Linked DNA regions of Homo sapiens: all the other regions are linked to region 1. The links are contacts of gene promoters, found by promoter capture Hi-C in blood cells and fetal thymus (Javierre and others, 2016). All regions are on one chromosome and are shown on one strand. Each heading gives the region's core, a stretch centred on a gene start or on the middle of the fragment in contact. The rest is flanking DNA. Distances are from core to core; before and after follow the strand shown. Region 1 holds the start of AVPI1 (arginine vasopressin induced 1). Region 2 holds the start of FRAT1 (FRAT regulator of Wnt signaling pathway 1). Region 3 has its middle 20 kb from the start of FRAT2. Region 4 overlaps RRP12 (ribosomal RNA processing 12 homolog).

The links. Contacts are between HindIII fragments. The CHiCAGO score rates a contact against its expected background, and 5 or more counts as called.
Region 2: a contact is called between the fragment with the promoter of FRAT1 here and the fragment with the promoter of AVPI1 in region 1, in 9 of 17 cell types (erythroblasts, M0 macrophages, total CD4 T cells and 6 more). The highest score is 8.7, in erythroblasts.
Region 3: a contact is called between a fragment that was not itself captured here and the fragment with the promoter of AVPI1 in region 1, in 1 of 17 cell types (M0 macrophages). The highest score is 5.2, in M0 macrophages.
Region 4: a fragment that was not itself captured here is called in contact with the fragment with the promoter of AVPI1 in region 1 in 1 of 17 cell types (naive CD4 T cells); the score reaches 5.4 in naive CD4 T cells.

Annotation. Positions count from the first base shown.
Region 1 is chr10:97,685,980-97,688,506 of GRCh38, reverse strand. It overlaps AVPI1 (arginine vasopressin induced 1), which reads left to right and starts at 1,266. Exons shown (of 3, transcript NM_021732.3): 1 at 1,266-1,741. RefSeq lists enhancers at 222-1,175, 243-1,442, 1,176-2,129 and a silencer at 900-1,279. The HindIII fragment of the contact is 1,235 bases long and covers 1,142-2,376 here.
Region 2 is chr10:97,318,002-97,320,528 of GRCh38, reverse strand. FRAT1 (FRAT regulator of Wnt signaling pathway 1) reads right to left here and starts at 1,258. Exons shown (of 1, transcript NM_005479.4): 1 at 1-1,258. The coding sequence starts at 1,075. The coding sequence ends at 236. RefSeq lists enhancers at 1-33, 1,123-1,417, 1,155-1,944 and silencers at 374-473, 974-1,283. The HindIII fragment of the contact is 4,234 bases long and covers 388-2,527 here.
Region 3 is chr10:97,353,654-97,356,180 of GRCh38, reverse strand. No RefSeq gene overlaps it. Among named protein-coding and RNA genes, the nearest start is that of FRAT2, 20 kb to the right of the region's middle. The HindIII fragment of the contact is 1,435 bases long and covers 545-1,979 here.
Region 4 is chr10:97,397,379-97,399,905 of GRCh38, reverse strand. All of the region lies in intron 2 of RRP12 (ribosomal RNA processing 12 homolog), which reads left to right. Among named protein-coding and RNA genes, the nearest start is that of RRP12, 2.7 kb to the left of the region's middle. The HindIII fragment of the contact is 7,404 bases long and covers 1-2,527 here.

The sequences.
Region 1 (2,527 bases), core at 17-2,516:
GACACCCTGCCTCCACTCCTGCCCCCTCCAATCCAAGTTCCAAACTGCAGCCAGAGTGACCTTCTAAAAACACAAACTTGTCATGATGATGAAATTTGCAAAGTGCTGACTGACACTACTGGTACGTGGTAAGTACTATAAAATGCCCGTTACATAAACACAGTACATATAATGCCATTCCTTGTTTAAACCCCTCCAAGGATCACATGCAACCTTCTCTGCCTGCCTCTGCCTTCTACTTCCCACCGTGCTCTCTCTTGCTAGCCTTACTCCGGGTCGCATTTAATTCCTCCGGAGCCAAGCTACCTCCTGGCCCAACCAAATGCCTTTCCCTCTTTCCTTAAAGCAGTCTCCCCAGATCCACTCCTCTTCATTTGACCAGTTTCAACTCCTTCTTTATATCTCAGCTTAAATGCTGCTTCTTCAGCCCTCCTGAACCTCCCAGAGGAAGCTTAGGTTCCTCCATATTTATCCTCTTATAGCCATAACATTGATCACAACTGTAATCACATACTCCATGTTTTAGGTTGTTTAATGCCTGCCTCCCTTACTAGGCTGTAGACTCCCCAGGACAAGGGCTATAGGTCTTTCCGTCTCTCTTGTTTACGGCCTATCAAGGAACTCGGACAGCATAGGTCACTAATGAACATTTCCGAATGCATACAAACTTTAAAATACGGTCTTGTTTAGGTAACCGGCCCAAAGTCGCACAAATGACCCAATATTTGAACCCACGACATTCTGGCTTTGAAGCCCAAGGTCTGACTCCAGCAGACTGCCCCCTCCTCTCCCTCAAAGCCGGAGCCAAACGGTGGGCTGGGAGGGGACTTGAGCGGCAGAGTCTGAGGATCTGCAGAGGGCCACGCGCTGCAAGGCAGTCAGTGCCGCGCGCGCTGGCCTCGGGCCCAGGAGAAGGGGCATCCGTCACGTGTACCCGGCAGGGCCAGCTTTCGCCGCACCCTGGGGCAGGAATGCAGCCCCGCCCAGCTCCCGCGCCAGCAAAACCGCGCTGGCCCTGGGGACTGACGTCAATGAAGGGGGCGCCTCGGGCGCCGCGCGGGGGCGGAGAGGGCGGTGGGCAGGGCCCGGGCAGACACGCCCCCTCACCGCCGCTCCGCCGCCGATTAGGTTTGAGGAAGCTTCGCACTCCGCTTTCGAGGCCAGCGGAGGCGGGGGGCGGGGATGGACACGCCCCCTCCCTGTCTCCCACCGATGATTGGCGCACGGAACTCCGCCTTGGGTTTGGAAGGCTCGCCTGGGAGCTCATACCTGGCTAGGGCCGAGGATTGGCTGTTCCGGGGCTAGGGAGCGCTTTCTCCCGGGAACCGCGGCTGTGACCCAAGTGGCCCGGACCAGTTTGGGGCTGCGTGCGGCCTGCCTCAAGCAACCAGGTACGTAGGTCGGCGGCCCAGCTCGGCGCTGCGGTGGGAGCCGGAGGGCGACAGTCAGAGCCGGGGTGCCAGCGGGACGCGACCGCCAGATCCACTTAGGACCCCGTCGTTCTGCGAAGCGGCCACGTCTGAGTCCCGGGGCCTCCTCGTGCTGCAGATGTCGCCTTAGGACCTCGGCCAGGATACCCTCTGCCATGCTCTTGTGCTGCCCGTGATCACCGACTGGCCCTTGTAAGCACCTTCGCAGAGCTGCGCCTGCCCTTTCTGAAGGCTGTGGAAGAGGTTGGAGTGGGCGCATCTTAGCTTGCCCCATCCCCATTTGAGGTCTGTCGGAGCTGCCCTTCAGTGTGGTGAGTACCTGCTCCAATTCTCCACCGGGCAGTGGAGTGCAGAGGGTACAGAGGCTAGCTTGGGAGTCCTGACTTTGGATCCCTCCCTGCTCCTTCCACAATCTACAGAAGCAGATAGCCTCCGAAAGGCTTCTGGGACCGACCTTCCCCAGAAGACCTCCTCAGCCATCTGGCAGGAACAAAAATAACAGTGGCTTGAGAGCCCGGGTGCTGGGGTCAGACTGCCTGGGTTCATGTCCCAGCTTCCATCACCTGCCAGCTGTGTGACTTTGGGTGTAGCTTTCTCATCTGTAAAATGGGTATAACAATAGTGCCACCTTAAGTGAGGAGGAAAGAAAGCACCCATCTGAACGTGCTCTGTTCTGCGCTTGACACTGAACAAGCTGCCTCTATGATTTTAATCATAAAGCTATGATTTAAAAGTACACAGATTTGTTGATGGCTGTGATGATGAAAATGACAATGATTCTATAGCCCCTGGTAGTCAAACAGCCTTTCCCTTCATCATTTATTCATTCAACCAGCATGCATAGAATGTCTGTGGTATACCAGGTACTAGAAGGAATGCCGTCACAAACTTAATCTCCCTTTTCCTGTTAAGAGTTATTTATACTCACCATTTATTTTAAAAAGCTTATTTAAAATTTTATAGAGGCAGTCTTGCTATGTTGACCAGGCTGGTCTGGAACTCCTGGGCTCAAGCAATCCTCCCACCTCAGCCTCCCAAAGTGCTGGGATTACAGGCGTGAGCCACCAGGCCTGGCCTTATACTATTTTGATGACGAG
Region 2 (2,527 bases), core at 9-2,508, 370 kb after region 1:
GAGGTGCGCTCTGTAAAATCTGCCTTAAATAGGGCCAAAGTCCTTCATTCCAAATATTTTGGCCCTCAACCCCAGTTACCCGCGAAACACTCGCGATTTTTCGGTTCCTCGTCATTAGCTTTTTACTCTCGCTTCCAAAAGCCAGAGTTCTCCACCAGCCTGAGTAGAACTGCAGCCCTCAAGGGAACCCCTTGCCCTCCAGTCTGAGGCTGGCGCTGTGGCCACCCCGGGCGTGTTAGCTGCCAGGCACAAGAACGCCGTCGCCAGTTCTGAGCTGCGCCCTCCCGGAGGCGCCAGGGTCACTGCAGGCCGCGCGAGGGCTGCGAGGCGAAGGGGGTTCATGCACCGGGGCCGACAGAGGTCCCAGGAGCGGGCGTTGGGGAAGCTTTGCACGTAACTGCAGCCGTCGCGAATGAAGCCTTCGCACGGCCTCCTTGATGAGGTTTCCAGAGAGCACTAGCTGCTGCAGAAGCCGGTGCGGGTCGTCGTCGCCTGTGCGGGTTTCTGGTTGGGACCCGCGTCGCTGCTGCAGGCGGCGGGAGGCGGCGGCGCCCCGGAGCCATCCTCGCCGGCACGGACCCGACAGCGGCTGCGGGATGCCCTGCTTGCCAGCTCCCGGAGGCCCATCAAGGTCGGCCTGAGGGGGCAGTGGGGACAGCGCGCTGGGGCCTGTGGCGAGCTCGGCCACGCAGTAGGGCGCAGCGCGGCCCCGCACGCGGCCGCGGTCCCCCAGGGCGCAGCGCAGGACCCCAGGGGGCGCCGGGCCCACAGTCTCCGCCAACGCGGGCGGCAGCAGCAGCGGCACCGCCGGGGACCTGGCCTTGTCCGCCGGCACCGCCGCAGCCAGGGGCCCCGGGGCCCGCAGCGGCGCCCCCGGGGGCCCGCACGGCGAGGCCGGGCTGTGCTGCGCCGCGTCCAGCTGCAGCGTCTCGCCGATCTGGGCCACCAGCCGGTCCACCTCGCCCGAGCTGCCCAGCGCCACTGACTGCTGCAGTAGGAGGAAGCTGTCCTCCTCCTCTTCCTCCCCCTCCGCCTCCTCGCCGGCTTCCTCTTCCTCCTCCCTCCGGCACGGCATGGCCCCCTGTCTGGGCACCCGGAGCTGTGCGGGCGTCGCTGGGGGCTCGGCTGCCGGCGGGCGCGGTGGGCCGCGGCGGAGCGGGCGCGGAGCTGAAGACTAAGTCTGGACCGGGGCCGGGGCGGACGCGGAAGCCGGAGCCCGCCAGGCACTCTAGCCGCGCGCCTGCAGCCGCGGGAGCCGGAATCCTGCCGGCTCGGGTTGATTTGTAAACAATGGGTGACGTCACGTCGGGCCCTACCACCGCGCCGGGGAGGGGGTGCTGTGCCGCTGGGGGACGGCGCTTCTGTGGGATTGGGGGTCTGGGTGAAGCCGGACTGCCTTCTGAGCTCCTTCGCTCAGGGTGCTGTCTGCAAGGGCGCCCTGGGGACCTGATCCTGGCTCCCGCAGTCGGGCGCGATTGGCATTTCCAGAAATGGGCACCAGCGTGAACCCTGTTGGTTTCTTCCACACACAAGCAAGCACGCACACTAACACACACCCACCCACCCACACACCCCTTCTCTCCGTGCGTCAACTCAACCGGTTTTTAGCGTTTGCGCTTTTGAGGTCCGGCATGCGGGCGTCTGGTGAGGATGGAAAGGAAAGGGAGTCAGGCTAGGGATTTGTACGGAGATTAGGGAAATGAAGCTGACGGGAATGGAAAGGAAGAAGGGGACCTTGTCGTTCGATGGAGGTGGCAGAGTTGGAAATGGCAAAGAAAGGCCACAGATTAATGTTTTTTGATCGAGATCCTGGGCGGATGGGGGCCTGGACTGGGGTTGGCATTGCTGGAGAGGAGGTTGCTAGTCTTTTTGTTTATTTGTTTGTTTGTTTTTTTGAGACGGAGTCTCGCTCTATCGCCCAGGCTGGAGTGCAGTGGCTCGATCTCCACTCACTACAACCTCCGCCTCCTGCGTTTAAGCAATTCTCCTGCCTCAGCCTTCCGAGTAGCTGGGATTACAGGCGCCCACCACCACGCCCGGCTAATTTTTGTATTTTTAGTAGAGACGGGGTTTCACCATGTTGGCCAGGCTGGTCTCGAACTCCTGACCTCAGGTGATCCACCCGCCTCAGCCTCCCAAAGTGCTGGGATTACAGGCGTGAGCCACTGCGCCCGGCCTAGGTTGCTACTCTTTTTGTTTTGTTTTGTTTTTTTGAGACAGAGTTTCGCTCTTGTTGCCCAGGCTGGAGTACAATGGCGCAATCTCCGCTCACCACAACTTCCGCCTCCTGGGTTCAAGCAGTTCTCCTGCCTCAGCCTCCCGAGTTGCTGGGATTACAGGCATGCGCCGCCATGCCCAGCCTAATTTTGTGTTTTTAGCAGAGATGGGGTTTCTCCATATTGGTCAGGCTGGTCTGGTACTCCCGACCTCAGGTGATCCACCTGCCTCGGCCTCCCAAAATCCTGGGATTACAAGCGTGAGCCACCACGCCTGGCTATAGGTTGTTAGTCTTAAGAGGGGCTATGTC
Region 3 (2,527 bases), core at 13-2,512, 330 kb after region 1:
AAGCAAAGAACCCCAGCACTGTTCCCACACCCCAGTATGAGTGTGCTTTGTGCCCTAGCACCTGACTGATACATTCTTCCCATCTCAGATCCTCCCAACGTGAGGCGAGCACATGCACACATTCCTCGTTTCCATTCTAGTTTAAGGCACTTGGCTCTGATAATGGTCCCAGGAGGCCCTGTGCACCTCCTGGCAGCCTGTCCCACCACACTCTTCCACTCATTATCTAAGGGGACCCAAGTCTTAATTGGATCTGGCGCTCCCCAAATTAGGGCATTTCCTCCCAATGATTTGGGGCTAGGAAAAGCTGAAAGGAACCACACTCGGCCCAGAGGTGGCACTGTTTACATGCCTTGTTCACAGAAATCTAGAATTGGAGAGCAAGCAAGAAAGGTGGTCAGGAGTGGCTAGGAGAGATTTGCAGAGGGGATCTAACCATACTCCCCGTTGTTACACTTCTGGACACAAGTTGGGCCGAAGTAAGCCAAGCCCAGTCCTTCCTGTTTCCTTTCTCAGGAAATGTGACCACGTGCACTGGGAAGCTTTGTGTAAAGTAGATAGGGGTATGAGCCAATTGCCCAGCATTGGTGTTTTGTTTTTTGTTTGTTTGTTTGTTTTCACAGAGTCTTGCCCTGTCACCCAGGCTGGAATGCAATGGCGTGATCTCAGCTTACTGCAACCTCTGCCTCCCAGGTTCACACAATTCACCTGCCTCAGCCGCCTGAGTAGCTGTGATTACAGGCACCCGCCACCACGCCCAGCTAATTTTTGTATTTTTAGTAGAGACAGGGTTTCACCATGTTGGCCAGGCTGGTCTCGAACTCCTGACCTTGTGATCCGCCCACCTTGGCCTCCCAAAGTTCTGGGATTACAGGCGTGAGCCACTGCGCCCAGCTTATTGGTGTTGTTTGTTTGTTTTTTAAAAAAAGGCCAGGCACGGCTCATACCTGCAATCCCAGCACTTTGGGAGGCCGAGGCGGGTGGATCACCTGACCAACATGGAGAAACCCCATCTCTACTAAAAATACAAAATTAGCCAGGCATGGTGGTGCATGCCTGTAATCCCAGCTACTCGGGAGGCTGAGGCAGGAGAATCACTTGAACCCGGGAGGCAGGGGTTGGGGTGAGCTGAGATCGCATCATTGCACTCCAGCCTGGGCAACAAGAGTGAAACGCCATCTCAAAAAAAAAAAAAAAAGAAAGCGTGAAGCCAACCTCCTTGTTATATATAGCACATTTTCCAAGGAACTTTGTTTTCTTTTAAAGATGGGAAAGGCAGGTGACCTAGAAAGGTTGGTGTTAGTGATGTGCTGAATGCCATATTCTTTTGGAAGTAGACTTCAAATGCAAGTGATCTTGATGCAGAGGCAAGAATTAATCTTCACCCTGAAACTTCAGGTGTATTTTGAAAGTCAGTGTTCTTGAGGCCGGGCGCAATCACTCACACCTGTAATCTAGCACTTTGGGAGGCCAAGGCAGGTGGCTCACCTGAGGTCAGGAGTTCAAGACCAGCCTGGCCAACATGGTGAAACCCTGTCTCTACTAAAAATACAAAATTAGCTGGGTGTGGAGGCACACACTAGTCCCAGCTACTCGGGAGGCTGAGGCAGGAGAATTGCTTGAACCCGGGAGGCGGAGGTTGCAGTGAGCTGAGAGCGCGCCTTTGCACTCCAGCCTGGGTGACAAGAGCGAAACTCTGTCTCAAAAAAAAAAAAACAAAGTCAGTGTTGTTTCAACAGTGTGGCGAAAGAGAGTCTTAGGAGTGTTCATCAACAAAAGATTCATCCAATTTTAGGGTGAATAGGAAAGTTGAGAGCTCTCACTCTCCAGATTTTCAATTTGTGCTTTTGGGAATGTCAATCTGAGGCTTGCTTTTCTGGGGTCCATCCTCCACTCATTCTCAGAAATGGAAAACAGGTCCTACCCTGCTTGACTACGAAAACCGCAACCCTGCAGTTGGCCAAGGGAGTGGTCAAGCTTTGGGGATTTGCAAAGGCGGTCTAGTCATGTCCACATTGTGACACTTCTGGCCATGGGTGAGTCAGGTTAAACTGACCTTGCCCCTTCACTATTTCCCTTCTCGTGATTGTGGCAGAAGGCTTGGTGGGGACTGTCCTGGCAGTTCATTCCTGCCAGTGGCCATCTTTAGAGCTAGTCCTACTTACAGCATGATCAGTCCCAAGAAGGGTGTTTTTTCTGTACTGTTTGCAACATGTAACAAAATTGCTTATGAAGTTCAGGTAGCCTGTTTTCAGTCCTCAGAGTCCTTTCCCCATTTTTTCTTTCTTGGTTGCTTATGTTTCCTCAAAGGGTAATTTTAAAAATTAAAATCGTATATATTTCACTACAAAAGTGATAAAGATTCCCAGAACATTTGGAAAAAACAAAAGTAAAAGTAGGGGCTAAAATCCTTCCACCAAATTCTGTTATTACTAGTGCATTTCATTCTTTTTTTTCTTAATATACGTAGGGCTATTTTTTTTTTAATTAAGGAAAAAATGTAAGGCCAGGCACAATGGCTCACACC
Region 4 (2,527 bases), core at 8-2,507, 290 kb after region 1:
CGTTCTGTTGGCCAGGCTGGAGTGCAGTAGCGCAATCTTCACTCACTGCAACCTCCATCTCCCAGGCCCAAGCAATCCTCCTGCCTCAGCCTCCCAAGTAGCTGCCATTACAGGCATGTGCCACCACGCCCGGCTAATTTTTTTTTTTTTTTTTTTAGTATATTTAAATAGTGCATTATTCAAGTAGCTAATTTTTTGTGTGTGTGTATTTTTAGTAGAGACGGGGTTTCACCATGTTAGCCAGGCTGGTCTCAAACTCCTGAACTCAGGTAATCCGCCCACCTTGGCCTCCTAAAATGCTGGGATTACAGGCATGAGCCACCGTGCCTGGCCTTACTTTTATTATTTTATCTATACTATAAAGTTATATATATTTTTTGTTATTGAAATAAAAAATGTCAAAATTCTAAATGATATCAAAATGATATAAGAATAATATAATGTGATGGTAGATCCCCCAACTTGAATCATTCACAGAGCTCCTGTTAATGGGTCATTGTCTGTCTTCCTGGACCAGCTCTGTCCAATAGTAATCTAAATTCAAGCCACATATGTAATTTAAAAATGTTTAGTAGCCATATTAAAAACTGAAAGAAACAGGTAAAATAAATTCATCTTTTTATTTTTTTCTGGAGCCGGAGTTTCGCTCTTGTTGTCCAGGCTAGAGTGCAATGGCACGATCTCGGCTCACTGCAACCTCCGCCTCCTGGGTTCAGGTGATTCTCCTGCCTCAGCCTCCCGAGTAGCTGGGATTAGAGGCGTGCGCCACCATGCCCGGCTAATTTTCTGTTTTTAATAGAGACAGGGTTTCTCCATGTTGGTCAGGCTGGTCTCAAACTCCTGACCTCAGGTGATCCACCCGCCTCGGCCTCCTAAAGTGCTGGGATTACAGGTGTGAGCCACTGCGCCCGGCCCAAATTAATCTTAATAATGTACTTTATTTAACTCAGTATCTTTAAAATATTATCACTTCAATGTATAATCAGTATATTTTACTACAGCATTATTTTTATGATACCAAGTCTTCAAAATCTAGTGTATAATTTACCCATATACCCCTACTTAGATGCTAAATTTTCATTGGAAATACTTGATTTGTGTCTATTTAGAGTTCATAACATTTATGGTTGTACAAGTAGATTTGCCTACTATGAATTACTACGAACCTATTTGCCAGGTTGTTACAAATATATGTTTTCTAGTAAATAGATCAAATATTTTAAATTATGAGTAGTTGAAATTTAAAAACTAAATTTTCAGGCTGGACATAGTGGCTTACACCTGTAATCCTAGCACTTTGGGAGGCCGAGGTGGGCAGATCATTTGAGGTCAAGAGTTTGAGACCAGCCTGGCCAACATGGTGAAAACCCATCTCTACTAAAAAATTAGCCTGGCATGGTGGCATGCGCCTGTAATCCCAGCTACTTGGGAAGCTGAGGCACGAGAATCACTTGAACCCTGGAGGCAGAGGTTGCAGCGACCCAAGATCGCACCACTGCGCTTCAGCCTGGGTGACAGAACGAGACTCTGTCTCAAAAAAAAAAAAAAAAAAGGCCGGGCGCGGTGGCTCACGCCTGTAATCCCAGCACTTTGGGAGGCCGAGGCGGGTGGATCATGAGGTCAGGAGATCGAGACCATCCTGGCTAACAAGGTGAAACCCCGTCTCTACTAAAAATACAAAAAATTAGCCGGGCGCGGTGGCGGGCGCCTGTAGTCCCAGCTACTCGGGAGGCTGAGGCAGGAGAATGGCGTGAACCCGGGAAGCGGAGCTTGCAGTGAGCCGAGATTGCGCCACTGCAGTCCGCAGTCCGGCCTGGGCAACAGAGCGAGACTCCATCTCAAAAAAAAAAAAAAAAAAAAAAAAAATACGTATATATATATACATATATATATATATATGTATATATATATACGTATTTTTTTTTACCCAATTTTGTTATTTAGGTTTACCAAAATGTGATTAGTTTCTTTTCTTTTCTTTTCTTTTTTTTCAGACAGAGTCTCACTTTGTCACCCAGGTTAGAGTGCAGTGGCTGATCAGCCTTCCAATTCCCAAGTAGCTGGGACTACAGGGGAGTGCTACCATACCAAGCTAATTTTTGTATTTTTTGTAGAGATGGGGTTTGCCATATTGCCCAGATTGGTCTTGAACTCCTGGGCTCAAGGGATCTGCCCACCTGAGCCTCCCAAAGTGTTGGGATTACTGGTGTGAGCCATTGTGCCCTGCTTGATTAGTTTATTTTTTATCCACTGTTCTGCAACTTTTTCCCTACTGAACGATATTTATAAGTTAATATATAGTTGTTCTCATTCTTTTGAATAATGCACTATTTAAATTTTTCATTATTATATAATGATACAGTCAGGTCTCTATATTTGCGGGTTCTGCACCTGCAGATTCAACCAAGCATGGATTGAAAAATCTTTTTAAAATAATAATAATATACCAGGCGAGGTGGCTCACGCCTGTAATCCTAGCACTTTGGGAGGCCGAGGCGGGCAGATCACTTGAGGTCAGAAGTTCAAA